Linked DNA regions of Homo sapiens: regions 1, 2, 3, 4, 5 and 7 are each linked to region 6. Evidence: promoter capture Hi-C in 16 types of primary human blood cells and fetal thymus (Javierre and others, 2016). All regions are on one chromosome and are shown on one strand. Each heading gives the region's core, a stretch centred on a gene start or on the middle of the fragment in contact. The rest is flanking DNA. Distances are from core to core; before and after follow the strand shown. Region 1 overlaps WASHC4 (WASH complex subunit 4). Region 2 has its middle 2.1 kb from the start of ALDH1L2. Region 3 overlaps SLC41A2 (solute carrier family 41 member 2). Region 4 overlaps ALDH1L2 (aldehyde dehydrogenase 1 family member L2). Region 5 overlaps ALDH1L2 (aldehyde dehydrogenase 1 family member L2). Region 6 holds the start of TXNRD1 (thioredoxin reductase 1). Region 7 overlaps NOPCHAP1 (NOP protein chaperone 1).

The links. Contacts are between HindIII fragments. The CHiCAGO score rates a contact against its expected background, and 5 or more counts as called.
Region 1: a contact is called between a fragment that was not itself captured here and the fragment with the promoter of TXNRD1 in region 6, in 1 of 17 cell types (M2 macrophages). The highest score is 5.4, in M2 macrophages.
Region 2: a fragment that was not itself captured here is called in contact with the fragment with the promoter of TXNRD1 in region 6 in 10 of 17 cell types (endothelial precursors, monocytes, total CD4 T cells and 7 more); the score reaches 8.8 in endothelial precursors.
Region 3: a fragment that was not itself captured here is called in contact with the fragment with the promoter of TXNRD1 in region 6 in 1 of 17 cell types (total B cells); the score reaches 5.4 in total B cells.
Region 4: a contact is called between a fragment that was not itself captured here and the fragment with the promoter of TXNRD1 in region 6, in 15 of 17 cell types (neutrophils, total CD4 T cells, activated CD4 T cells and 12 more). The highest score is 11.8, in neutrophils.
Region 5: a contact is called between a fragment that was not itself captured here and the fragment with the promoter of TXNRD1 in region 6, in 14 of 17 cell types (total B cells, naive CD8 T cells, naive B cells and 11 more). The highest score is 11.4, in total B cells.
Region 7: a contact is called between a fragment that was not itself captured here and the fragment with the promoter of TXNRD1 in region 6, in 5 of 17 cell types (neutrophils, naive CD4 T cells, naive B cells and 2 more). The highest score is 7.1, in neutrophils.

Annotation. Positions count from the first base shown.
Region 1 is chr12:105,155,829-105,159,483 of GRCh38, reverse strand. It overlaps WASHC4 (WASH complex subunit 4), which reads right to left. Exons shown (of 33, transcript NM_015275.3): 27 at 2,692-2,758; 28 at 2,162-2,248. Among named protein-coding and RNA genes, the nearest start is that of WASHC4, 50 kb to the right of the region's middle. The HindIII fragment of the contact is 2,572 bases long and covers 478-3,049 here.
Region 2 is chr12:105,084,726-105,088,357 of GRCh38, reverse strand. No RefSeq gene overlaps it. Among named protein-coding and RNA genes, the nearest start is that of ALDH1L2, 2.1 kb to the right of the region's middle. RefSeq lists a silencer at 3,593-3,632. The HindIII fragment of the contact is 2,064 bases long and covers 647-2,710 here.
Region 3 is chr12:104,936,176-104,940,321 of GRCh38, reverse strand. The region is part of intron 1 of SLC41A2 (solute carrier family 41 member 2); the gene reads left to right. Among named protein-coding and RNA genes, the nearest start is that of SLC41A2, 20 kb to the left of the region's middle. The HindIII fragment of the contact is 437 bases long and covers 1,612-2,048 here.
Region 4 is chr12:105,038,204-105,042,379 of GRCh38, reverse strand. It overlaps ALDH1L2 (aldehyde dehydrogenase 1 family member L2), which reads left to right. Exons shown (of 23, transcript NM_001034173.4): 16 at 1,686-1,773; 17 at 2,574-2,667. Among named protein-coding and RNA genes, the nearest start is that of ALDH1L2, 44 kb to the left of the region's middle. The HindIII fragment of the contact is 6,154 bases long and covers 1-4,176 here.
Region 5 is chr12:105,064,723-105,068,602 of GRCh38, reverse strand. It overlaps ALDH1L2 (aldehyde dehydrogenase 1 family member L2), which reads left to right. Exons shown (of 23, transcript NM_001034173.4): 5 at 1,934-2,035; 6 at 3,247-3,336. Among named protein-coding and RNA genes, the nearest start is that of ALDH1L2, 18 kb to the left of the region's middle. The HindIII fragment of the contact is 7,481 bases long and covers 1-3,880 here.
Region 6 is chr12:104,213,696-104,217,689 of GRCh38, reverse strand. It overlaps TXNRD1 (thioredoxin reductase 1), which reads right to left and starts at 1,911. Exons shown (of 17, transcript NM_001093771.3): 1 at 1,797-1,911. The coding sequence starts at 1,887. RefSeq lists enhancers at 903-1,518, 1,519-2,135 and a silencer at 1,959-2,048. The HindIII fragment of the contact is 5,942 bases long and covers 1-3,635 here.
Region 7 is chr12:104,997,576-105,001,702 of GRCh38, reverse strand. It overlaps NOPCHAP1 (NOP protein chaperone 1), which reads right to left. Exons shown (of 4, transcript NM_152318.3): 4 at 1-4,127. Among named protein-coding and RNA genes, the nearest start is that of NOPCHAP1, 13 kb to the right of the region's middle. RefSeq lists an enhancer at 2,114-2,614. The HindIII fragment of the contact is 3,914 bases long and covers 444-4,127 here.

The DNA.
Region 1 (3,655 bases), core at 514-3,013, 940 kb before region 6:
ATCTAACTACCCAAATACTCAACTACTTCTTCCTAACAGCAGACATCTACTAACCTTTTAACCACCGTCCTACAATTACGCAGGATTAGGATGCCTGCTCCAGTTCTCCCCTGTCTATGCAGATAATCTATTCATTATCATGACCCTACATTTCCTTGACTTCAATCAACCACTCCCTTGCACCAATCTGGATCTTCCAACTAGCAGTCAGCTTTACCCTAGAGATCTTAGAAGACAATATCCTACTCTCTGATTTCCTCACACTGCTTCAAAATATTTTTTAAATGGTCAACACTTTCGGAGTGAATGGCATCATTTAACATAAGGTAAAGGTCTGATCCTTTCCTTTGAGACACACATCAGAAACTATTTAAACCATTTTCAGGCACATGACTTCAAATGGCTTAACTTTGTAAATGGCTTATGTAATCTGGCAAAGAGCTTAAGCTATCTAACAGACTATTCCAGAGCAAAGCTTCTGTGCTGGGGCCTTATTCTCACAGAAATGCATGCATTTTCCCATATACTTTTTTATTTTTTAAGATTTCAAGCCTATCAAAAAGTTAAAATATAGTATAATGAACACCCGTATACCCTTCAACTAGATTCACCACTTGTTAACATTTTGACACAACTGTTTTCTCTATTTTTCTGAAACACTTGAAAGTTGTGGACCTTTTATCACTTAGCCCATTAATGCTTTAGCATGAATCTATTAAGAATGAAAACATTTTTCTACAAAGCCACAAAACACTGTTATACCCAAGAATATAATACAGTATTAACTAATATACAATCCATGTTCAAATGTCCCCCAATTATTCCTCAAATGTCCTTTACAGCTGTTTCTTTCCTTATCTAGGATATGATTAAGTATCACCCATTACATGTGATTATCAGGTCTCTTTATTCTCCTAATCTAGAACAATCTCCGTGTATTTTTTGTCCAGGCCAAGTGTTTCATAAAATGCTCACATTCTAAATTTTTCAGGACATTTCCTCCTAATAAATTCAGGATAAACATTTCTGGCAAGAATACAAACTAGGTACTTGACATTACATTGCATCAAGAGGCCACATTACATCTGTCTGCTCCATTACTGGTGATGCTAAGTTTGATCACTTGGCCAAGGTGGAATATATTTCTCCACTGTAAAGACAGTTTTCTCCTTTGTAATTAATAAGCAATTTTATGGGATGAATTACTGAATGAATCCTCTGTTCTCTAAAAACTTTTCACCTAATGTTTTAGAAACCACTGGGGATTCTTGCTTGATTTCAAGTATTACAGTGATGGTTACAATTTCCCCCCTAAATTTAACAAGCATTCTTCCATAAAGAAATGACTTTCATTCTCTTATCATTATGATCTTCTTATGATAACCCTTCTTATCATTATGACTCATTGATTTTTTTTATTCAACAGATTTTTATCTATCATTATTCTTTTTGATCAAATTGTCTCCCCCTTGCCCAGGGGTGCCCCTTCATGCCTGATTCAATAACCTGCTATAAGTGTGAATAAAACATACAGTTTTCTAAACATATTCTTACCAATTCTGCATGCCTCTCGTGTTATGGGACAAATGCACAACTGACTCAAGTCCTGCACTGTTCAATAAGACAGACATTAGCTATTTAAATTTAAATTAAGATAAAATTTACACTTCAATTCCCCAGTCGCATTTGCCATATTTTAAGTGTTTACCGGCCATATATGGTAGTGGCTACAGTGCTGCTATAGATTACATATAAGAAAGGACTGGCATTCTAGAACACTGTTGGTGAAGAGAAATATTTTAAAAAGTAAAAAGAAAATAGGTGAAATGAATTTTATGATTGAGGTATTTGGCATTCCTCCTTTTATACTAAATCTTCAAGGTTAGTTATGTACTTTATACTTGAGCACATCTCAGTGTGGACCAGCCAAATTTTAGGTGCTCAAGAGCCATGTGTGGCTAGTGGCTGAAATACTGGACAGCATGTTCTAGAAGCTGGAAAGGTCTTAGAATACTGAAGTCTTAAAAATTATACTTCATAAACTGAGGCCATAATTTTGTATAATAAAAACAGTGGCATAAAAATTACATATTACCCTCTGGTCTTCTCTTCAGAATGTTTTTTATAAACACACTTTTTTATATTTCCAAATTTAGATTACCTTGCTGCTTTTAATGTTTCTTCTGCAAGACCTTCTTCTTTTACTAGTTCTTCAAAATTTACAATATCTTCAAGATCAGGAACAAATCTACATAAGAATTTGGGAAGGCATTTATTAGGTCAAGTAAAATATGTGCAATTGACACAGATATAAAAGTGGTACTGCAGGACTCTAAAATTTTCAACTATGTATTTGGAAACAACTGTGCATTTCAGTAATATTATTCATATCACCACTTTAGTTCCAAATTGAATTTTAGATATGAATATTTTAATCCTTAAAATCATGTAATCTTTACATGCATTCATAAACCATATTGATAAATTAACTTAAGAGAAATATTTTCAGAAGTCTGCTGCAGTCTTAAAATTTGAGAAAAATCTAGTAGAATTAATAGTTTTCTTCCATATTTTATCTCAAAATATATCAAGAACAAACACCTTATCTACAATATCACTTGTAACATATATTTAATGGACACAATTTTTAAAATGGCATAAACAAGGCAAAAATGATGTTTGCATCCATACCTAATGGCATTGCTGCTACAATGAAGACCACCAGATCTTATCATTCGTACATAGCCCATAGCATTACCTTAAAAACCACACAAAAAAATCAGATATTTATATAAATAACTCTAAATTCTAATAGGAATATAGTTACATACAGTAGTAAATTACAAGGTTTCCACTCCTAAGAACCAAAATATTTTGCTATATTTTACTTCAGTTCTTATCATAAAAAGTAAAACTGTTACATATTTCTACACTTAAAATATAAACATACATACTTATATATAACTATATTAAATATTTAAAAGTAAATGTTATTTTCATTTGATAAACTAAAATCATTAAATGCTGACTACATTAAAATGGTCAAGCTTAAAATTATAATATCAATAATTTCTCCTCTCACATTGAGATTCAATCTCCGCCACATACACAATTGGAAGTGATATCAAGAAATCTTTATTTGATGCCTCCCAAATTTATATCTCTGGCCTGGACTCTTCCTCTGAACTCTAGGTTTTTTTATCCGATGCCTACACTTTTATGTCTAATAAGAATTTTATATTTCATATGTCCAACTCAAGCTCAGGATCTTTATCCCCAATTTTGCCTATCAAAGAAACTGGCAATTCTATCCTTTCAGTTGCTCAAGCCAAATGTCTTAAAGTCATCCCTGGCTCCTTTCTCTCACATTTTATAATCAAAATGACTGGGCAAATTATATTGACTTTGCCTTGAAAACGTAGCCAGAATCCACCCACTTTTCATTCACCCCTTCATAGATATCCTCCTATCCAATCCATCACCAGCTCTTGGCTGGAGCACTGCAATATGCAATGGCCTCCTGATTTCCCTACTTTCACCTTTAGCATCCTGCCACATTCCCCAGTGTTGTATAATATCTACAGAGCTGCTAGTGAATTTTTAAAAACTAAGTTAGAGCGTATAGTGCTTTTTCTTTTTTTTGAGACAGAGTCTC
Region 2 (3,632 bases), core at 429-2,928, 870 kb before region 6:
GGCTACATGTTAATTTCAGTCAAAAAGCAACCAAACAAGAAGAGGGCATGGAAACCCATAGAATTTTGTTCTAAAATCCTTGAAGTTGACTGTGGAAGTAAAAATGTTCTACACACATTTTTAGAAGTTTATAAATTATATGACTTGCAATTTCATAAAATTCTGAGTGAACGTTGTGTCTAGGACAAAACAGATCCCTGATCAACGTATTATATTTGCACAAGGCCCCTAATGTCACAGATATTAGTCACTAAACAAAACATTTGTCTATGGCAGAATGAGTAGATTCCAATTTAGGGCCAAGTGCAGTGGCTCACGCCTGTAATACTAGCACTTTGGGAGGTGGAGGTGGGCAGATCACTTGAGGCCAGAAATTCGAGACCAGGCTGGGCAACATGGCAAAACCCCTTCTCTACAAAAAAATACAAAAAAAATTAGCCGAGCATGGTGGTGTGTGCCTGGAATTCCAGCTACCCAGGAGGCTGATGTAGAAGGACCACCTGAGCCAGGGAAGGTCAAGGCTGCAGTGAGCTGTGATCCCACCACTGCATTCCAGGGACACCAATTCCAAAAAATAAAAAATAAAAAAGATTCCAATTTAGTATTCTGTAAACCCAAGACCCTAGCCACTCCTACTATGCAAGCTTTACATAGAACTCTAACTTTCATAGAGTTTTGTGTGGGAATTCTTGGGTTTCAACTTGGCACATCATCTATGTACTTTCTAAAGCGTGAAATTAATCCAGACACTTACAAAAAGTTATTCAAATGATTGTATTTACAAAAATGGCACAAAGTGAATTAAATAGTCTATGCACATGCATATATATATTTGAACTCCATAAAACATTATTATTATTGTTCTATACAATTAATATTAACTTAAATTTGCCCTCATATTAATCCTTTACATTACTATTCATTCTTTCATCTGTGAGTTTCCATCTGGGATTATTTTCTTTCCTACAAACTTATCCAACAATTTTCTATTGTTGTTTGGATATTTGTGTATTTTCATGTATACATATATAAACATAATACTTTATTATATTAATTATAATAATTTATTATTGTTCATGTGGTCAATGTTCACTTTTTTTTTTCTTGAGACAGGGTCTCACCCTGTCACCCAGCTGGAGTGCAGTGGCACAACCACAGCTCACTGAAACCTCAATCTGCCAGCTCAAGCGATCCTCCTTACTCAGCCTTCCGAGAAGCTGGGACTAGAGGCACGTGACCATGCCTGGCTAATTTTTGTATAATTTTTGTATTTTTTTGTAGAAACAGTGTTTCACCATGTTGCCCAGGCTGGTCTCGAACTCTGCCCACCTCATCTTCCCAAAGTGCTGGGAATACAAGCGTGAGCCACCACGTCCAGTCCAATGTTCACTTTAAATTTGCTCACGTCTTTGCCTTTTTTGTTGGGCTTCTTGCATTTCTAGGTTTCCATGTGGGTAAATTTTTTTTTCCTGCTGGAAGGATACTCTTTCATATTTCCTTTATTGTCTGTCTGCCGATGACAAATTCTCTCAAGTTTTTGTTTCTAAAAATGGCTTTGTCTTATCTCTATTTTTAAGGAGTATTTTTGCTGGGTATAGAAATAGATTGGCAGGGGTTGGTCTCTTTGTCAAACTCTAATTGCATCTGATCTAATTTCCAGTTATCAAGGAAACTATACTTTTGATTCTTCCAGGGAAAAAGTAAACACAATGAATATTTCATTATATTTGAGTGAACATAAATTCTACATTTCCTAAACTTGGGAATAGTAATATATAACTATGGAACCTCATTCAGGAAAAAAAAAAAAAAAAAAAAAAAACCCCTCCTTATGCACCCTTCTAGTATACACAGATCAGAATAAATAAAGGGAATATCAATATTTGGAAGTTTAAAAAAGCAAGAAGTCACAAAATGCAGTCAGGAAAGTGGGTTGAATTGGCAAGATGTAGGGCTCAAAGCAAAACCTTGGATGTTTGTTGCAATTCTCCAAGTTTTTTTTTTTTTGAAACAGAGTCTCCCTCTGTCGCCCAGGCTGGAGTGCAGGGGCGCGATCTCGGCTCACTGAAAGCTCTGCCTCCTGGGTTGACGCCATTCTCCTGCCTCAGCCTCCCAAGTAGCTGGGACTACAGGCGCCCGCCACACGCCCGGCTAATTTTTTGTATTTTTAGTAGAGACAGGGTTTCACCGTGTTAGCTAGGATGGTCTCGATCTCCTGACCTCGTGATCCGCCCACCTCGGCCTCCCAAAGTGCTGGGATTACAGGCGTGAGCCACCGCGCCCAACCGCAATTCTCCAAGTTTTAATGATGGTTCTTTTTTGTCTCCTTACTCTCTTAAACACATTCATCCGTTTCAACAAGTTTTTTTTTAACAAGTTATTTTTTATTTTATTATTATTTTTTTAAAGCTCTGGTTAGTGCTAGATACTGTAAATCCTGATTAATCAGACATGGACTTAGCTTGCAAGGAGCTTCCAACAGAGACGTTAATAGGTATACAAATACCAGTAGCAGATTGAGACAGCCATAACAGATGCATAGACAAAGATTATTTCCTGTTAAGAGGAGTGAACAATTATTTATGGGGAATAAGGAGACTAAGAGAGAAAAGAATCAGAAAAAAGCGCCTCCAGGAGGCAGCATGTAAGCGGTACCTTTCAGAAAAGAAACGGTCGTGCCAAGATAATTACAAGTGACAGATGACAAGCTTTTCTGGGAAACATTGTCCAAGAAGGAATAGGCAAGAACTGCAGTCAAGCAGAATTACATATGCAAAAGAGCAGTGAGAAATAAGAGAAAATGGCAAATTGCAGACGGCCCTGAATGCTGGGCTAAGAAGTCTGGCTTGAGATAAACGTCCAGCTAAAGCAGGTCTGAGCGTTTTTTCCAGAGAGGTGAGGGAGAAGGGCACGTATCTATTAGGTTGATGCAAAAGTAATTGCGGGTTTGCCATTATTTTCAGTGGCAAAAACCACAATTACTTTTGCACCAATTTATTTATTTATTTTTAAGACAGAGTCTCGCTCTGTTGTCCAGGCTGAAGTGCAGTGGCATGATCTCAGCTCCACTGCAACCTCCGCCTCCCCGGCTCAAGTGATCCTCGTGCTTCAGCCTCCCGAGTAGCTGGGACTGCAGGCATGCGACATCACGCCCGGCTAATTATTTTATTATTTTATTATTTTTTATTTTTAGTAGAGACGGGGTTTCACCATGGTGGCCAGGCTGGTCTCGAACTCCTGAGCTCAGGCCATCTTCCCTCCTCGGCCTCCCAAAGTGCTGGGATTACAGGCGGGAGCCACCGCGCCCGGCCTACCGTCCTACGAGGTAGGCATCAGGATCCCTCCACAGCGAAGGCGCCCCCACTACCTATCTGTCTACAGGCGTGCCTTTTACGGGCTGTGCTATGGACAGCACTTGGGATGTCAGATTGACCACTAATAAGGTAGATCCGTATACACTGCTGCGGGGCTGAGTAACTGGTAGAGGGTCCCACAGTTAGAAAGCACCTGGACCTTGGCTGGAATTGGCGGAAAGTCCAGGCAGCGGAGAGGCGCGGTCCCTGGGACTGGGTGCGCTCTTGGCACCAGGGTCAGGGCCCACAGGCTCCAGGAAGCCCACGCGCTCCGCCGGG
Region 3 (4,146 bases), core at 581-3,080, 720 kb before region 6:
AAAATAATAAGGCTGGGCTCGGTGGCTCACTTCTGTAATCCTAGCACTTTGGGAAGCTGAGGCAGGTGGATCACCTGGGGTCGGGAGTTCAAGACCAGCCTGACCCACATGGAGAAACCCCATCTCTACTAAAAATACAAAATTAGCCGGGGTGGTGGTGCATGCTTGTAATCCCAGCTACTCGGGAGGCTGAGGCAGGAGAATCGCTTGAACCTGGGAGGCAGAGGTTGCGGTGAGCCGAGATCACGCCGTTGCACTCCAGCCTGGGCAAAAAGAGTGAAACTCCGTCTCAAAAAAAAAATAATAATAATAGGAAACAGAAACGTAGAGGAGGTATACTTTAAGAAAAAATTAAAAGAACAAGGTACCCTTGCAGAGTGGCAAAAGTAAGAATATATAATAACCATAAAATAAGTCTATTTCTAGGTGTGTCTGTATGTGTGTATGTGTGTCTGATAGTACTGTGGATCTTAGTATGTTTATATAAATATACATATCTGCTCAACAAGTTCTGGGATATTCAACTAAATGAAATAATTACTGGTAATAGATTGCATTAAAACTTTTTCTTTTATTGTTGTGGGAAGAAAACAAAATGTTAAACTCTGATTTAATACCATCCTTAGTAATTAGGAATGACCTGTGTCTCCTGACTTTCAGCTCTACTGGATTTCCTAAGCATTGTTATTTAACTTTTGCAATGGAACAGAATGCCTCTTTCAGTACGATAGGCAGAGTTTCTCCAATATTCTGGTTTGGTAAATCCACATACATACAATATACTTTGTTTTCTTTATTTTTAAAAATAAGCAATTTTATGGCTGGGCATGGTGGCTCGTGCCTGTAATACCAGCACTTTGGGAGGCATAGGCAGGAGGAAGTGATCACTTGAGGCCAGGAGTTTGAGACCAGCCTGGGGAACATAGCAAGACCCTGTCTGTACAAACTATTTAAAAATTAGCTGGGTGTGGTGTCCTGCACCTATAGTCCTAGCTACTCGGGAGGCTAAGGTGCAAGGATCACTTGAGTCCAGGAGTTTGAGGCTTTGGTGAGCTATGATTGCAACACTGCACTCTAGCCTGAGTGACAGAACAAGACCCTTTTTTATTTTTGTAAGTAAAGTTGAATTCATAAGGAGTGTCTGGTCTTATTTTCCTTTAAGTCAATGATTCCCTGACATGACTCTATAAACCAGTGGTAAACTATGACAAAGGTCTCACAGGAAACATGAAATGAACTTTTCCATAAATCTAAATGTGTTCAGTGAAAAGGACTGCCCTTTAGTCTGAGATTTTGTCCTTTCTACATTTTTGGTGTTAAAATGTATACTTATTTTTTAGGAAAAGATTGTTTTTAACTTTGTAAAATTTTGGGAGGAAATTTTGGTTTTTGAGATTCAAATGTTTGGAAGCCAGTGTTTTAAAACTCCTTGTCCATAGACTGCAATCTTTAAGTGCTCAGTATATCAGAGAGACTCTCCTAAACTAAAATGGATAGGAATTTGTGGGTCAGATTACTTTTTAAAACATATACTTTTTAAGTTAGCTTTTGTTAGGTCATGCTGTGATAATAAACAATTCCAAACTCTCAGTGGCTTTCTGGGACAAAGCTTTATTTCTTTCTCCTGTTATGTGTACCCTGTTGATTGCTGTGGGGTGGCTGTGGTTGCTGTATCTCTCCATCTGTCGTTGTCTTGGGACCCAGTCTGAAGAAGCAGCAACTGCCTAGGACATGCCATTCTCATGACAGAGGGAGCAAAGAGACATAGCTGAATTGTTTCTGTTTGTAAGTGTTGCTGCTGCTCTTATTCTGATGGCCAAAGAGAGTCCCATGGCCAAACCTGATGCTAATGGAGATGAGGAAGTAGAATTCTCCTACAGTCCTTGCAAATAACATGGCAACAGGTAGAGACGAGAATCCTCCTGTAGGAGGGGACCAATAACGGGGAGTAATAATAACATCCATCACAGTATTAATCACATCGAAGCAGTCTTGTATATGCACAATTTGAAGAACAATAATAAACACTAGGTATCCACCACCAAGCTTAAAAAATATAACCAATACCTTTGGAACCTCCTGGGTGCTTTTGTATCACTTCACCAAATGTAAGCACTCTTGAAATGTGTGTTTGTCATATCCTTATTCTTATATTCCATTGTATAGATATGCCACAATTTATCCTTTCTCATGGATTAATTCCATTTTTTTTTTTGCTAGTATGGATAATGCTACCAAGAACATTCTTTCATGTGTCTTCCGGTGTACAGTGTGAATTTCTTTAGGGCAGGGATTTAAGGATGGAAATGCTGGACTGTGGGGCACATGCCTCTCAGTTTTGGTAGATAATGCCAAATTGTTTTCCAAAGTGCTTTTGGCAGTTTATACTTGCACAAGTAGGGCTGTATGCATTACCACTGCTTACATCCTTGTTCACACTTGAAAGCCTGGTAATATCAAATGATTCCTTTTTGAATGTATTGGGAGGTGCTTCTCAAAGTAACACAAATCCTTTGGGATACCATTTAAAGTACAGACTTTGATTCAGGAGGTTGAGTTGGGATGGGAGCTGACTGAGGTCCTGCATTTCTTAGTCTCCCAGTTGATGCCATGCCACTGGACCCAAGACCACACTTTGATAACAAGAATCTAAGGCACTAAATACAGTCATGCATCACTTAATGAAGGGCTTAATGATGGGGATAAATTCTGAGAAATGTGTTGTTAGATGCATTTCATCATTGCGTATCATAGAGTATGCTAACACAAACCTAGATGGTAGAGCCTACCACACGCCAAGGCTGTGTGGTATGGCCTATCGCTCCTAGGCTACAGTACAGTAACGTGTTATACAGGTTTGTATAGCACATTACTCTACTGAATATTATAGGCAGTTGTTACACAATGGTAAGTATTTGTGTATCTAAAAATAGAAAACGTATAGTAAAAACACAGTATAAAAAATAAAAAATGATACACCTGTATAGGGCATTTACCATGAATGGAGTTTTCAGTACTGGAAGTTGCTCTGGGTAAGTCAGTAAGTGAATGGTGAGTGAATGTTAAGGGCTAGGACATTACTGTGCACTACTGCAGACTTTATAAACACACTTAGGCTACACAAAATGTACAAAAATATTTTTCTTTGTTAAACTATAGCTTACTGCAACTTTTAATTTTTCATTGTTTCAATTTTAATTTAAAAAATTGTTTAGAGGCAGGGTCTTGCTCTGTCATCCACTGGGGTGCAGTGCACAATCATAGCTTACTGTAATCTTGAGCTCCTGGACTCAAGGAAAACTCCTGCCTTGGCCTCCCAAAGTGTTGGGATTACAGGCATAAGCCATTGCACCCAGCCTGTAACATTTTTACTTTATAAACTTTAAATATTAAAAATATTGACTTTTGTAATAATACTTAGCTTAAAACACACACACATTGTACAGCTGCACAAAATATTTTCCTTCTTTGTTTCCTTATTCTATATACTTTTTTCAATTTTTGTTTTTTTCTTTTACTTTTAAAAACCTTTTTATTAAAATCTAAGACACACACTGATATAGTTTGGCTCTGTGTCCCTACCCAAATCTCATCTTGTCGCTCCTGTAATTCCCACATGTTGTGGGAGGAACCCAGTGGGAGGTGACTGAATTACGGGGGCAGGTGTTTCTTGTGCTGTTCTCATGATAGTGAATGGGTCTCATGAGATCTGATGGTTTTAAAAAATGGGAGTTGCCCTGCACAAGCTCTCTCTTTGCTTGCCACCATCTACGTAAGATGTGACTTCCTCCTCCTTGCCTTCTGCCGTGATTGTGAGGCCTCCCCAGCCACATGAGTCCAACTAAACCTCTTTCTTTTGTAGATTGCCCAGTCTTGGGTATGTCTTTATCAGTAACATGAAAATGGACTAATACACACACACATTAGCATAGGCCTCCATAGGGTCAAGATCATCACTATCACTGTCTTCCACCTTCACATCTTGCCCCACTGCAAGGTTTCCTGGGCCAGTAGCACACAAAGGAGCAGGTATACATGCTAAAATAATATAAAAAGTATAGTATAGTAAATTCATAAACCAGTAACAAAATCATTATTTATTATCATTGGCAAATATTATGTACTACATATATGTAACTGTATGTG
Region 4 (4,176 bases), core at 920-3,419, 820 kb before region 6:
TTAATAGGCTTCTTTTTCATAGGGACATGGCTTAACAATTCTCAAATTACTTTCTCTATGTTTTAGGATTAAGCAAATAAGTAAATGTATTGTGGATAATGGGAGCCATGTCTCTCTTTCTTGGAGAAGAGAATGACAAATGTAAAAAGGGCAGAAGGATAGAATCGACCCTAAGATATCGGATAAAGGTATCAGTGTAAACTCATGGGTTTTAATGTATTTAGATAGCTAAATAAAGAAATGGATATAGGTATATGAGGGATAGATACACACATACATGTAGACGTGTGTGTGTGTGTTGTGTATACATACATCTCTTTCCCAGCTCTGTCTGCTAAGAGGGCCTAGAAGCGATGACCCCTCAATAATGTCCAGATATCTTGGTTTCTAAAATACCATTCTTCACTCAAAGAAACTTGGGCTCCTTGGAGAAGTAGCTGGAGTAGGGAAGAATCAAGATGAATCTGAAATATCTTGTTGGGCCTGAAAGCAATGTAATGCTCAAAGTAATAGGGGCACGTCAGAATGATAAGGGGCCGTACTGAAGGGACTGCCTCAGCCAAATCTAGAACAATTGAACATCAAAATCAGTAACAATAGTAAACGATGATAACCTGCTGATTACAGTAAGAATCTTTGTGTTCACACTGATATTAATTAATTGAACAGAATGGAAAACACTTAGAGTAGAGAGCCAACTACTACACGTAAAAGGAATGAGGGAATTGGAAAATCACCATTTGGCAACCATCATGATACTTTAGGATTATTATCCAGAAATTATCCATGGACACTAAAACTAGTGGATAAAAATTTGAGGAGTATCTCCCCACAAAATATTTGTTAACTACAATGTATAAAATAGTAATTTACAGTGATGAAAGTTGGCAGACCACATTTGCCAAATAATCAAAACTAACTTTCCAGTATTGGAACTATTCTACAGCACGTGCCTCCTGATGTCCTGAGAAAAGCTCAGCATCGCTCCGGTGGCATTGTTCCCAAAAGTGCATAACTTGAATCTAACCATGCAAAAACATCAGACAAATCCAGACAAAGAGACATTGTATGAAATAACTGGCCTGTACTCTTCAAAAATGTCAGTGTAATGAAATAGAAAAGAGAACTGAGAAATTCTCCTAGATTACTGGAGACTACAGATAGAACTAAATGTAATGCAGATGTTGGATTTTCTTTTGCTGTAAGACATTATTGGGATAATTGGTGAAATCTGAATATGGTCTGCAAATCATGTATTCTATCAATTGTTAATCTCCTGATTTTGATGATTGTACTATGGTTATGTAAAAGAATTTCTTGTTTTATAGAAAATGCACACAGAAGTATTTAGAAGTATGGGGTATGTCTTTACCGTATTCTTAAACAGTTCAGAAACAGATATTCCTTAAATTTATCTTTAAAAAATAGTTTAGAAAAATATATACAGAAAGATAAAGCAAATGCAGTAAAATGTTAACATTTGAGGAATCTGAATGGAAATGTATATAAGGAATACTTGTACTATTTTTGCATCTTTTTGTAAGTCTGAAATTATGGCAAAAAAATAAGACAATGTACAATAAAAATAAAATGAGATCTAGTGCAGCTATCAAGGGAAAACTGGGTTCTGGGCTAAAGGTCAGGTTAGGGCCTGAAGAAGGTAATTGCTGTTTGCTTCTCCTCAGGTCACGCCCTTGACTGCTTTGAAGTTTGCAGAACTGTCTGTGAAAGCAGGCTTTCCAAAGGGGGTCATCAACATCATTCCAGGCTCAGGTAAGCCACTAAATGACCGACTGTGCTATAACTAATGAATGGTACTGGGGTAGCTGAGTGGCTCTTTTACCTCTAGAGACTTGTCCTGAATTATAACTGTATTAAAACTAAATACAATTCACCAAACAGTTAAGGATGAATATACTTACCATGTGCTAAAATCTTAAAATGGAAATACAGTGGTGGGTGAGTGGCAGTGGGGAGGGGGGTTGTACAGTCATGTAAAATTACCCTAAGATGTTCCATTTTGATTTTCAAAAACTACTCTGGAAGATAAAAATCAAGGCTTACCCATCATTATTTTGGGAGTCTGATAATTTCATAAAGGGTATTATTTCAGACTTTTATCAGTTTGTAATTAATACAGAAAATGTAAAACTAAGGTGTCAAGGAGAGCTTAGAAATCTACTTCAATGAATTTAAAGCCATCTTCACTATAAGAATTTGAGTAAGGTTTTTTTTTTTTTTTTTTTTTTTTTTTGAGACGGAGTCTCACTCTGTTGCCCCGGCTGGAGTGCAAAGGCGCGATCTTGGCCCACTGCAACCTCCGCCTCCTGGGTTCAAGTGATTCTCTCTCAGCCTCCTGAGTAGCTGGGATTACAGGCGTGTGCCACCATGCCTGGCTAATTTTTATATTTTTAGTAGTGACAGGGTTTCACCATGGTGGTCAGGCGGGTCTCGATCTCCTGACCTTGTGATCTGCTTGCCTCAGCCTCCCAAAGTGCGGGGATTACAGGCGTAAGCCACCGCGCCCGGCCTTGAGTATGTTTTAATTCCCGTTTTATTCCCTAATTCTACAGGTGGCATAGCAGGACAACGTCTGTCTGAACATCCTGACATCCGCAAACTTGGTTTCACTGGATCCACTCCTATTGGCAAACAGATCATGAAGAGGTATTGGTTTTAAAATGTTGATTCACTGCAGATCCTGTTAAACTAGGTTTCAATTTTTGTTTAAACAGGGTACTTTTTGAGTGAGAAAAACTACATCAACTTTGGAAGGGAAATCTACTTATCACTGCTGAGTATTGAAATATTTGAATACAATAAAATACTTTCCAAAGCATTAAAGCCCAGAGTCAATAAAACCAAAGCTATGTTGAAATTCTGTGCCCTACTGGTAGTTTTAACAATTCAGCACAAAAGACTTCCTGTATTAAAGCTGTGGCCCAAATTGTTCTCAGAGTATGGGTAAAAAACCAAAAAGATACATAAATGTGAAATTTATATATTTTATATGACAAACCTGGATTATTTATAAATGGAGTCCGCCAAAGCAATTTTTTTTTAAGCTGTAAGCAATCTAAATGTCCAAAATAAAGCAGTTGTTAAAATATGTCAATGTAATGGAACACTGTGCAGTCATGTTCATAGAGAATTTTAATAACATTGAAAAGTGTTGTTAAAATAATAAATGGAAATAAAAATAAAGTATAACATTGTATACACTGGATGATCTCAACTATGTTAAACAACGCAAAAGCTATGGTAGGACAGATCACAAATAGGTAGTATATCAAAATGGTAAAAACAATGGTCACTGAGGCATGGAATGGAATTTTGTGATTTTTTTCTTCTGTTTGCATTTTGGGGTAGGTATTTTCAAAATGCTTTAAATAAAAATACTTTTGTAAGAAAGGAAAAATAAGCAGCGTACTTTTAAAAATTGATATTTTTTCTCCCAATGCTTCGGTAGTCTGGTTAGAGGTTTAATTCTTTTGCCAGGCTTTTATGTAACCAAAATTTCTAAAGAATTTGAATTAACTTTTGACCACAACATTTTTGAAATTTTTTTATTATGGAAAATGTCTAATACATAGAAAGCAGAAAAGCAAAATGAATTTTATGTACTCATCACTCAGCTTCAATGGTAATCACCATTCTACCATCTGTTTTATCTATGAATAACTTTTTCCTTTTTCTTTCTTTTTTTCTTTTTTAAGAGACACGGTCTAACACTGTCACCCAGGCTGGAGTGCAGTGGTGATCACAGCTCACTGCAGCTTTGAATTCCTGGGCTCAAACGATCCTCCTGCCTCAGCCTCCCAAGTAGCTGACACTACAGTCACACACCACCATACCTACCTAATTTTCTTATTTTTTATAGAGATGAGGTCTTGCCATGTTGCTCAGGCTGGTCTCACACTTCCGGCCTTAAAGGATCCCTTCTACCTTGGTCTCCCAGACAGTTGTGAGTCACTGTGCCTGGCCTTGAATAAGTTTCTTAATATTACTGAGGCTCAATATGTTTTCCATGCCAGGTGGTAACTTATAGCTTAAAAAGTGTGTGTGTGTGTGTGTGTGTGTGTGTGTGTGTGTGTGTGTGTTTGTGTGTGTGTGTGTGTGAGAGAGAGAGAGAGAGAGATGTTAACTAAATGCTCATTTCTCATTTGTTTTCCTCTA
Region 5 (3,880 bases), core at 1,194-3,693, 850 kb before region 6:
AAATTAGATTTTTTTTAACTAATGGGATGGTATATTTAGGATGGAAATCTGAATTTTTCAATTTCTTAGTCTATGAAACTGACTTATTTTTCTGAGAGCAGTGATCCAATGGATGCAGTAGCATTTAAACTGCTCCATTCTTTTGCCAAATGCTTGAATCTTCAACCCTGCCTATAATGATTAATTGTAAAGAAGTAGATTGAATCTTAAGAAATTTTGCTACGTAATTTGTTATGGAAATTTAAAAGTACTTTAAATTAGCCTCTGTAACAGGGTGAAATTTGGTGTTGCTGTATTTATCCAGACGTATTCTGGGGTAAAAAAAAAAAAATCCCAAAACATGTATACCATCAAATAAAAATATTGCAATATTAGCCTACACAAATAGTGAAAGCTCCAGCTGATAATTTTGATGTCATTTAATTTTTTTTCAGAGCTAGTATGAAAGAAGTAGCAAGATTATATACAGTAGTAGCCATTGATTTAGGAGAGAGGAAAGCAGTGCTTTGCTTGTATCATTCAATGATTAAGAGAGTAGGGCTTCGATGTCAGAAAGACCTAAGCTCAAGTTTCCATTCTACCTCTTCTTTGTTGCATGACCACAGGCAAGTCGCTTAGCCTCTGTAGCTTTGGTTTCTTCATCTATACAGCATGGATAATACCACCTGACTTGTAGGGTGGTTGTGGAAATTAAGTGACACTATTTGTGCAAAGCATCTGGCCCATGGTAGGTGCTCATAAAATGATCATTACAATCAACATAGCATTTTGTGTGTTCAGTGATATTTGCTGAAGCCCAGATTCTAGACCTAGTTATAGCCTAGATGGAGGTGGGTGGAATGAGCTGTAAACTTGGCTCTGTTCCCCTGTGGCTCCCTCCGTGTGCTCTTGGGTGGGTTGGTCAGCAGCTGTGAGTCCTTAGAGAGAAATCTGAGAACTTGAACTCACGTGGGCCTCGCAGTGAAAATGGGAGGCTCTCGACTCAAGGCAAACGTAAATATAACAGAGAAGAAAATGCAGGACACCTCCCAAAGGCAATCAAGCTCATGGATAGATTTTAACTTTTTTTATTCCAGGTCTCCTAAACTAGAAAGCAAGTTGAATTCATTAAATACAGTAAGGTATCATTTTTTAGAATCATCATGATGAGTAAAATAACTCATAAAGACTTATTTTATCATTATATTCCTATCATTTCCAGTGAATCACTAAGGGAGGTGGCAGTTTGTTTAAACAAGGGAGTCATTTTTGAGAGTGCAGACTTCGATTGGCAATAGATAGACCTGGATACAAATCCTGTTTCTGACACCTACAAGCTCTCTCTGTGATCTTCAGCCAATTGCTTAGCTCTTTTTCTTTTTCTTTTCTTTTTTTTTTTTTTTTTTTTGAGACAGAGTCTCGCTCTGTCGCCCAGGCTGGAGTGCAGTGGTGTGATCTCGGCTCACTGCAAGCTCTGCCTCCCGGGTTCACGCCATTCTCCTGCCTCAGCCTCCTGAGTAGCTGGGACTACAGGCGCCCACCACCACGCCCGGCTGATTTTTTGTATTTTTAGTAGAGACGGGGTTTCACCGTGGCCTCGATCTCCTGACTTCGTGATCCGCCTGCCTTGGCCTCCCAAAGTGCTGGGATTACAGGCGTGAGCCACTGCGCCCGGCCTTGCTTAGCTCTTTTTCTGTCAGTTTCCTCAGGTGTAAAACAGGAATAACAATATACACCTTGCAGGATTTGTGTTATGTTTTCAAGGGATATTTTACATAAAGTAGCTACCACACTGCTTGTCAGGATGGACCTGAAGAAATGGTAGTTATCATCATACTCTTGACTCTCTGAACAGGTTTATAGGTAGTAATTCTGTTATGCAGAAACTTTAGTCAAATAGACCATGCCATTGTTGATCATTGGGCTGTAACACAGGTGATGTCTTTGGCCTTAGGTAGAAGCTGTCCAACTCATAGCTGATGGAAAAGCTCCTCGTATACCCCAGCCAGAAGAAGGGGCAACATATGAAGGTATCCAGAAAAAGGAAAATGCTGAGGTATTTATATATCAACTCAATAACACGTCTCAGAGTTCATGGCCCTCTACCCTTCAGTAGTTCCCCACATACTATGATCTTGCCAAAAGGTAAGCCAGCTTGCCCTAGCCCTACCTGTTAGAGTAGACAGGTAGCCAGACATACGCAGGAGAGGGGAGTCCCCTAAAGAAAATAAAGTCTAGGAAGACTCGTGTCTGGAAGACCACTCAAAATTTGCATATTAATAGTATCTCTAATGCTGGAGTGGGTGGGCACTTAGTCAAATGTGCATAGAAAGGAGAGGAGATACTATGCAAACAAACAAACAAACAAGCAAATAAAAAATGCCCAGAAACGCCTCTTCAGTCTGCCCAACAATCCTTCGCTCTGCAGTTAAAATGTCAAAATATCACTAGCTACATGCTAATGAAAAGGGCAAAGGGGATATTCCTTAAAAAATCTGGCATGCTAGGTGCGCTGGGCACAGTGGCTCATGCCTGTAATCCCAGCACTTTGGGAGGCTGAGGGAGGAGGATCACTTGAGACCAGGCATTCGAGACCAGCCTGGCCAACACAGTGAGACCCCTGTCTCAAAAAACAAAAAACAAAAACCTGGAGCCATAAGTTCAGCTTAGGGCAGAGAAGGAAATTCCAAAAAAACACACAGATGCAGTAGGTATAGATTTGGCCACTATACAACCTCCCTGCAGTGACAATAGTAAACAACACAGGCATCAGGTAATATTCATATCCAACACCAATCCACACATACACACCAACTAATAATATGGAGGGTCCCATAAACCTGAGACAAAATCTAGGTGCGGACAAAGCAGAGAGCTAAGACAGACACAAACAAACTAGACAAAAAAAAAAAGAGGCAGAGACTTAACAGAGGTGGGAACTTCAAAAAAAAGTTCAACCTAATAAAAACCCAACATAAAACTCTCCAACAGCTACTGGCCTACTCCCCTCAACAGCCCGCTCTACTTCATCTTTACAAAGCATACTGTCCCTTTAAATAACCCTCTGCTTTTTATTTTCCTTTAATAAAGTCTCTTGTTTACTAAATCAGCCACCTGACAAAATACTTACTCCAAATAAAACTAAGAAGCAAAAATTCCTTTATTTCCCAATAACAAGTGTTTCTGCCTCTGATGACGAGAAGCGTTTTTATTGCCTTTGAGGTTCACAGCCATAGGAGGCTCAGCCTGTATTTTGTGCCTTCCTAGATTTCTTGGGACCAGTCTGCCGAAGTTTTACATAACTGGATTCGAGGTCATGATAAAGTCCCTGGAGCTTGGACAGAGATAAATGGACAGGTATGTTTTAGGGACCACTCCCCCCACCCCCCTCCCCGATTATTACCTTTGTAAGAGATATTACAGATAAATCTGGGCTTCCCATGGTTCTTCCTTGGTCATGAGGCAGGTCTGTGATTCACTCTCCCCTTTACTCAGCATGTATTAAGCATTTATTGTGCAGCAGACACTAAATCCAGCGCCTGATCTAAGGAGCCTGCAGTTTTATGGGGAGTGCAGAGAAGTGAATAAACATTCTCAGTGCAGTAAGATAAACGCTATCATGGAGGCTGAGACTCAGGCATGTTAGGAAAGGCTTCCTAGAAAAGCTCACTGCTTTGCTCGAGAAGAGTTAACCAGGTTGAGAGCAAGACAAGTAGGTGAAGCCCCAGAGATAAGAGACTCCAGCACCTGGTCAAGGACTTGCAAAAGGAGTTCAGTGAAGCCAGGGTCTGAACTGTGAGGACAGGCATGGGGAGAGCTGAGGCGGGAGAGGCGGGCAGGGCCTGAAGGGTCTTCTATCCATGGGTAATTGACTCAGCCCAGGCTCTCAGGTTTCACCTCT
Region 6 (3,994 bases), core at 662-3,161:
AAGTTCAGGGGATCTGCTTCACAACAATGTGAATATACTTAATACTGCTGAAAACTGTATACTTAAAAACGGTTAGGGTCAGCTGGGTGCAGTGGCTCATGCCTGTAATCCCAGCACTTTGGGGAGCTGAGGTGGGCAGATCACCTGAGGTCAGGAGTTCAAGACCAGCCTGACCAACATGGTGAAAACCTGTCTCTATTAAAAATACAAAATTAGCCAGGCGTGGTGGTGCATGCCTGTAATCCCAGCTACTTGGGAGGCTGAGGCAGGAGAATCGCTTCAACCTGGGAGGTGGAGGCTGAGGTGAGCCAAGATGGCGCCATTGCACCCCAGCCTGGGCAACGAGAGCGAAACTAAAAAAAAAAAAAAAACAAAATTGTTAAGATGGTAAATTTTTTTTTTTTAACCACACACAAAAAGAATGTAGCTAAAGAAAAACAGTAAATAAATGGAAGGACATAGATATCAAGAAGATCCTGAGGATGGCACATGAAACGTCAATTTGGGATGCACCTGCTCAAACTCCTTCATTGTACTAATGGCCACAAATTAGCTGCCTGACCTGGACCTTGCCTGACCTTGCTCCTACCCTGTTCCTTTATTCTTCCCTTCCCCTAATCCAAGTCCTTAACTCCAGCAGGATATACAGGCCTCCCTATCTCTAGCATGGTCTCACCGGCTGCTTCCCCTAACAAGAATGTTCTCCCTTCAGACACCTCTACCAAATCCTACCTCATCTATGGGAGCTGCCATCCCCACTTGGCTGTTTTTACCACTCCTTTTAGCCCTTCACCATATGCTGCCTTGTAACTAAACTGTAAGCCTTTGAAAGAGGCAGATCCTACAGCATTTAATAATTCTAGCCATTGGGCAAGGCACTTTTTGGAGCCTCACTTTCTCAAGCCTATAAAAAAGGTGGAGGCGGCCATATGACTATGACCAGGGCTTTTGAGTCAGATGGCCTCAACTGGTATCCCAGCTCTTCCACTTACTAGTTGTGTGCTTTGGGTAAGTTTTATAACCTCTTTGCTTCTCAGTTTCTTCATCTGTATAATGGGGTTTATGATAAATCTCTCAGTATGGCTGGAAACATGAACCAAGATTATTACCCATGTCTAGTGCTTCCAAAGGCCCCTCTCATGTCAGTGCTTAGTAACCACTAGCCATTATTGGCATTATCCGGACAATGGAGAAGAGACTGGGAGCTTTCTCTTCTGGAAGAACAAGTGAAAGGATAAAGCGGGATGATGGTGGGAGAAATGTGCCCAAAATTCAAGGGGATGGAGAAAGGGGGCCGGGAAGGCGTGTCGGACAAGATTCTCGATGGAGGAGGATGCTGGGAGTGGGCCGGGGGCTTCTGGAGAGGTGAAGGGGCACCCCCGGACTCGGCTGTCGGTTTGGTCGCTTCCCCCGTAACCTTTCATTGGAAACACGGTGCTTGTAGGAAGAGGACGCCCTAACGGGCCCTGAGCGAAATCAGGCGGGTCGCTGCCGAGATCTCGGTTCGGTTTCCGACAGGTTTCCGGGCAGGTCCTCGCGGCGGGCCCGCTCCTCCTTCCACCTCCCACCTCTCTCACAGCCAGCGGGCGGGGCAGCCCTCGGCCGGCCGCCGGCCTCCGTCTCCCGGGGTGACCTGGGGGAGCGTTTCTGGGGTCTCCAGCGTGGCGCGCGGTCAGTCACTGACTCCAGTGAGGGGCTTCAAGGCCAGGGCTCCGGGGCACTTTATCCCCAACCCCGGCCGGAAGGCCCGCTTCGGCCCGTCGACCTGGGGACCAGGCCTTCGCCCTCGGTCGTACCTGACCTACGGCGGCCATCGCCGTTCTTGCCTTTCGTCTGCAGCTCCGTTGGGGCGGCCGCCGCCACTGCCTTGCCCTCGGCGCAGCCCATGTCGCACAAGGCCCTGTGGGAACTGACGGAGCCGAAGGACGCCTGGCGGAGGCCGCGAGCCCCCTGCCGGCCGCGGGTCGGAGAACGCGGTGGGCGGGGCGCTCGGTGACAACAGCGAAGTCATAGCCCGTGTATCTTCTTCAAGGTCGTGAATTTTTTTTTTTTAACAGGAAAGAACGGTCGCTAAAGGTAAATTGGAAAATGCAGAAATGGAAAGGAGAAAAGAGCGCACCACCCAAAATCCTTATCCTTCGGCTGGGCGCGGTGGCTTACACCTGTGCACTTTGGGAGGCCGAGGTGGGAGGATTGATCGCTTGAGCCCAGGAGTTTGAGACCATCCTGGGCAATGTAGAGAAACCCTGTTTCTACAAAAAATAATTTTAAAAAATTTATCCTTCACACAAACTACTTTTGCTGTGTTTACTATTTCTTTCCAGTTTTTCCCCTCTATGCATAGTTTTGCATCCAGCATTTCACTTAATACTAGTATTTTCCATACTATCACATAGTCTTGTAAGCCTCCCAGATAACCACCTGGCTTCCACTGTCACTTCAGTCTTTGCCTCTTTGACCGTAGATGAAGCATACACTGAACATCGTAGTTTCTTTTTAATACACTTTATTTTTTAGAGCAGTCTTTTTTTTTTTTTTTTTTTGAGACGGAGTCTCACTCTGTCACCCAGGCTGGAGTGCAGTGGCGCGATCTCAGCCCACTGCAACCTCTGCCTCCCAAGTTCAAGCGATTCTCCTGCCTCAGCCTCCCGAGTAGCTGGGACTACAGGCGTGTGCCACCATGCCCAGCTAATTTTTTGTATTTTTAGTAGAGACGGGGTTTCACCGTGTTAGGCAGGATGGTCTCGATCTCCTGACCTTGTGATCCGCCCGCCTCGGCCTCCCAAAGTGCTGGGATTACAGGCGTCAGCCACTGCGCCTGGCCTTAGAGCAGTCTTAAGTTCACAGCAAAAAGACCATCCTATTTGAACAGAAATCTGATCACGCCCCCCTCAACTCTACCCCCACCCTTTACTTTACTCTATTTTATTTTTACCAGCACTGAGAGCCTTCTAACTTACCCTATATTCTCTGTCACCTGCTCCCACTCCCTCCGCCAGCCTCCCCACGACACCCTGCCCATGTAAACGCTGCCAAAATAGAACCTTTGCATTTTTTTCTTGTATCTTGGCCTTCAGCTTGGGCCAGGTGGCCTCCCCCACCTCTTGAAGGAAAGCAGGGAAGAAGCGGGAAAATATTAATTTGAATAATTATAATAATGTAATAGTCCATCCACTAGAGCTACTGGACGATTACATAGCCTATTATTAGATGTTTAGTTTGTTTTTTATTTTTAAAAATTATGAATAAGGCTGCAGGGAACATCTTTGTGTTTATAGTTTTAAGGCTGTCATTACACGTTGCCAAAATTGCTTTTTTGGAACTGTGGTTCCCATTTGAACTCCTACTAGTAATGAATGAGAGTGATTTTTTTTAACACCAAACCACATTGCGGCACATCAGGTGCACAGTCACTGTTCTCTATCAGTGCAGTGCTCTGTTTTTCCTTCTTTCAATTAACTAACATATGGTAAGCATCCAACTTATGCCTGGCTTTGTTTAGGGTTACAAGGTGACTCAAATTCCCTGGTCTCAAGGAACTTCCACCCCAGCTGAGATTTAGTGAACTTGTCTGGTCACCAGATGCGTGGCAATTGTGTGGGCCCTTTGTTTTCATTTGGGTTTGTGGACAAGCTTATATCCTGCTTCTCTGGAGAGCAGCCCAGAGTCAAAATGCTCTTGGAAAACACTGGGTGTTTATTTGCTTAAACACAGAAAACAAATAAAACTGAACCAAAGGCTTTTTTTTTTTTTTTTTTTGGAGATGGAGTCTCGCTCTGTTGCCCAGACTGGAGTGCAGTGGCACGATCTCGGCTCACTGCAAGCTCCGCCTCCCGGGTTCACGCTATTCTTCTGCCTCAGCCTCCCTAGTAGCTGGGACTACAGGCGTCCACCACCACGCTAATTTTTTTTGGTATTTTTAGTAGAGACGGGGTTTCACCATGTTAGCCAGGATGTTCTCAATCTCCTGACCTTGTGATCCACCCACCTCAGC
Region 7 (4,127 bases), core at 1,151-3,650, 780 kb before region 6:
TCCCATACTGGAAGCCATCCAACTGACACTGGTGTCATTTACAGAAAATCATACTTTTTAATTATGTGATACTGCCCCAGTAAATCTGCTGGGGCAAGACTTGCTCTCCAAGGCAAAAGGGCATATAAAATTCTCTTTCAGAGGGACAAATAATCTTAGAGTTTCCTGACTCTCCTGAACCAGAACTGTTATGCTCTCTAAAGGCAGAAATTGAAAAAATATTGGTGGGATGACTATTCTAAAATTGCTAAAATGGCTTATAACTAATGTTTGGTTTATCAAGCTCATAATCCTGGAAAGATAATCCAAATTTTAGGTGGTACATTTCTACTGCCTCCTGGACCATTTGAATGTTTACAGATGGATTTCATCAATTGCCACCCTTAATGGGATAACAATATGTTCTTATAAAAGTCTTTGTGTTCTCTAGACGGATAGAAGCTTTATCATGTAGGAAGGCCAATGCTATGACAATAAGTTATTAGAAAGTATGTTTCCTTCTGGGGCTTCCCTGGAGGAATTTCCAGCAATAGAAGAACCTGTTTCACTGGACAAGTTATAAAACAGCTAAAACAGTTAATCGAACACAATGGTATTACCATCATCCCTAACACCCTTAATCTTCTGGAAAGCTCAAAAGAACAAATGAAACTTTAAACTGAAATTGGTAAAGTTAACTGAATTGATTGAATTGCCTCGTCCAAAGGTATTACCATTGGCCTTATGGGCAACTAGATCCACCCCAACAGAAAATACAAAATAAATTAGTTTCTTATGAAATAGTTACTGAAAAACCTATGCCCCTAATAATTAAACCTCATATATCTCCTGCTCCTGTAAACTGACATGACTAAATACTGCAAGGCCTTAATGTATTATGCCAAAGTATATTTTCACCAGGTTAAAAAAAAAGCCTTTCACGATCTATCAATGGAGGACAACCAAGCATTTCACAATCTGGAACATGGAGATTGGGTCTTCTGAAAACAACATCAGTGAAACACTGCCCTCAAACCCCTATGGAAGGGACCATACCAAATTCTTACCATCCACACTGCAGCAAAAGTTCAGACCCTCAAGACTTTTGCTGCAGTATGGGTGGTAAGAATTTGATCATGGATCAAGAGTTCTCTTCTCTGTCATCATGATAACTATGTCCCTTTTCTTTTTCCCTTATTTCCTATTGTCTTAATCTTTCCTTTTCCTTACAGGAAAATCCATAGGACCATAATTTGCAATGGCTTTAGGTAAGGCTCATGCTCTAGCAGAAAAAACAGAGCAACTGTTTGGGTTTGTGGGCTAATGGGTAAAAACCAGGAAACAACTCCACTAATGCCAACACCTCTCTGAGTTCCCGAAGAGAATTACCCTGAAACCCCAAAGGAAGAGAAAGCAATCCTTGATGTTCTAAATGTCACTGCTATTTGCTTGCCTACACTCACTGAAAGGAATATCCCAACCTTTCCAATTAATAACCTAACCACTATCAAATATAGAACATCAAACCAAGTGATGCCTACAAAAGGTATATTATGCTTCCAGGTATCACATACTCAAGACTTGGGGACTATCTATGTGGGCACCGGTGATTATTTGTATAATGTCATTGGATTAAATATAGTAAGGTGCTTTTCCACTAAATGTGGTTATACACATTATGCTATAAAGGGAACAGGTTGGAGGCAAGATGATCAGCTAGATGCAGCCAGAAGGAACATCTGCCACCAAGAGACTGGGATATCAGGAAGACTGGTGCACTCCCAGCAGATCTTCAGAGGGAGGGCACTGAGAGTGGATGAAGGGAAGACACAGATGCTGGGCTGAAGAGGGAGGAAGCGGGGAACCCTGCAAGGGGCTACCACACACTAAGACTCGTTCCTGGCCCCCGACTCCTGGAAAAGGGGTGAGTTGAGCAGGCAAGCAGCAACTGACTCCCACCACAGGCCTCTGGAATCTGGCAGGAGACCCCAGGACCCCCATGGACTCTTGAGCTTGCAGGGAGAGCTGCTTAGAGAAGTGGTAGGGCAGAATTCTAGCTGGTGCAGAGCCCAGAGGCTTTGGTGCGGGAGCATCTGTAGTGGATCATGGCCAGGGACGCCCATCACCCATGACTCACCTTGCTCCCCTAAGAGACTTCAACCCTAGAGGAACTATCAGACTTGAAAAATGCAGGGCAGTCTTGCCTATGAGACCTGGCCGATCGGAACTAAGCACTCCTCAGTTTCCTGACCTCTCCCTGGGCCTCAGCCTGGCTGTCCCTGCTTGCAGTGCAGCCTTAGATGCCCAGGTGGGGTGCGTCCTGGGGGCCTACGCTATAGCACCTGAGTTGGCAGATCGTGCCTGAATGGCAGAGAACTCCAGTACTACCCCCACCCACAACAGACCGTGCACCAGACCACCTGATCCCACTCTCTCCTCCCACTGCAGACTCCCCCATGGCACCTTGCCTGCAGACGCTGGCATGCAGCCAACCCCCGAATCACTTTGCCAGCACCTGTGTACACAGACCTCGCCTCCAATTTCCTGCCAGTGTGTGGGTACATGTGCACCTGGCCATGCCACTACTGCTGGCTTGAGCACACTGCACCCGACCACCATGCTGCCACTGCCACTGGAGTATCTGCAGGTACGGAGACCACCAGTACCCCACTCCGACACCAACACTGCCACCAGCTGCAAAACTAGGCACAGTGACCAGTGGACCTGCCCTGCGCCCTGTGCAGCCACTGCAGCCAGCATAAACGTGCGCACATTTGGCACCAGTCCCGCAGCCACCAGTACCCTGCCCCTGTGTCAACACTGCCAGTGGTGTGAAACTATGCATGGAGACCAGCAGCCCGCCCCCTTACCCTGAGTGGCCACTGCTACCCATGTAAGCACACGCACAGAGGGCACACAAAATCTAGCAGCAGCCACAGCGCCCCACCCCCATGCTAACACCACAGCCACTACAAATGCCTGCACAAAAACAGCACCCTTGCAACTGCCAGCACCCCTCTGAAGCTGATGAGTGTGCACCGCACCCCACTGCTATTGCTGGCATGTGCATATGAGGACAGATCCCACTGCCACTGCCATACAAAGCACTTTGGCTGGCACCACCCATTGAAGTGTTCTGACCAGTGGTCCAGAAATATCTTGGCCCCTCTAGCACAGCAGGTACCTAACCTCCAGTGGCCAGAGAACAAAGCCAGGGGCCTGATATCAGCCCCCCAGAATTACAGCATACAGTCCAGGAATCCTGAGTTGAGCCTTGGCCCCTGAAAACCTTCTAGAAATGAAGCCAGTTGACTAAACCCACTTTATACCACAATTAAACACACAAGGACATAAAGTAGGATAAAAGAAAAAAAATCATCCAAAGGATAGCAACTTCAGCGACATGAGCCCACAAAGATAAAAAAGAATCAGTGCAAAAACTGACAAAAGCACTAGAGTATCTTCTTACCTCCAAAAAACTACACTAGTTCCCCAGCAATGGTTCTTAACCAGGCTGAGATGGCTGAAATGGCAGAAATAAAATTCAGAATATAGACAGGAATGAAGATCATCAACATACAGGATAAAGTCAAACCCAATCCGTGGAATCTAAGGATTACAATAAAATGATACAGAAGCTGATAAACAAAACGGCCATTATAAGAGAGAACTAAACCGATCTGACAGAGCTGAAAAACACACTACAAGAATTGCATAATGCAATCACAAGTATTAACAGCAGAATTGACCAAACTGAGGAAAGAATCTCAGAGCTTGAAGATGGCTCTCTGAAACATCTTTTTCTTTATTGGAGAAAAAAAACAATAAAGAATGGACAAAACTTCCGAGAAATATGGGATTATGAAAAGAGACCCAATCTATGACTCATTGATGTGACTGAAAGGGAGAGAAACCAAGCAACTTTGAAAACATATTTCAGGATATCGCTGATGAAAACTTCCCCAACCTTGCTAGAGAGGCCAACATTCAAATTCAGGAAATGCGGAAAACCCTTGTGAAATACTACACAAGCAGACCAACCTAAAACATACAGTCATCAGATCCTCCAAGGTGGAAATGAAAGAAAAAATGCTAAAGGCAGTGAGAGAGAAGGGGCAAGTCACCTACAAAGGGAAACCCATCAGGCT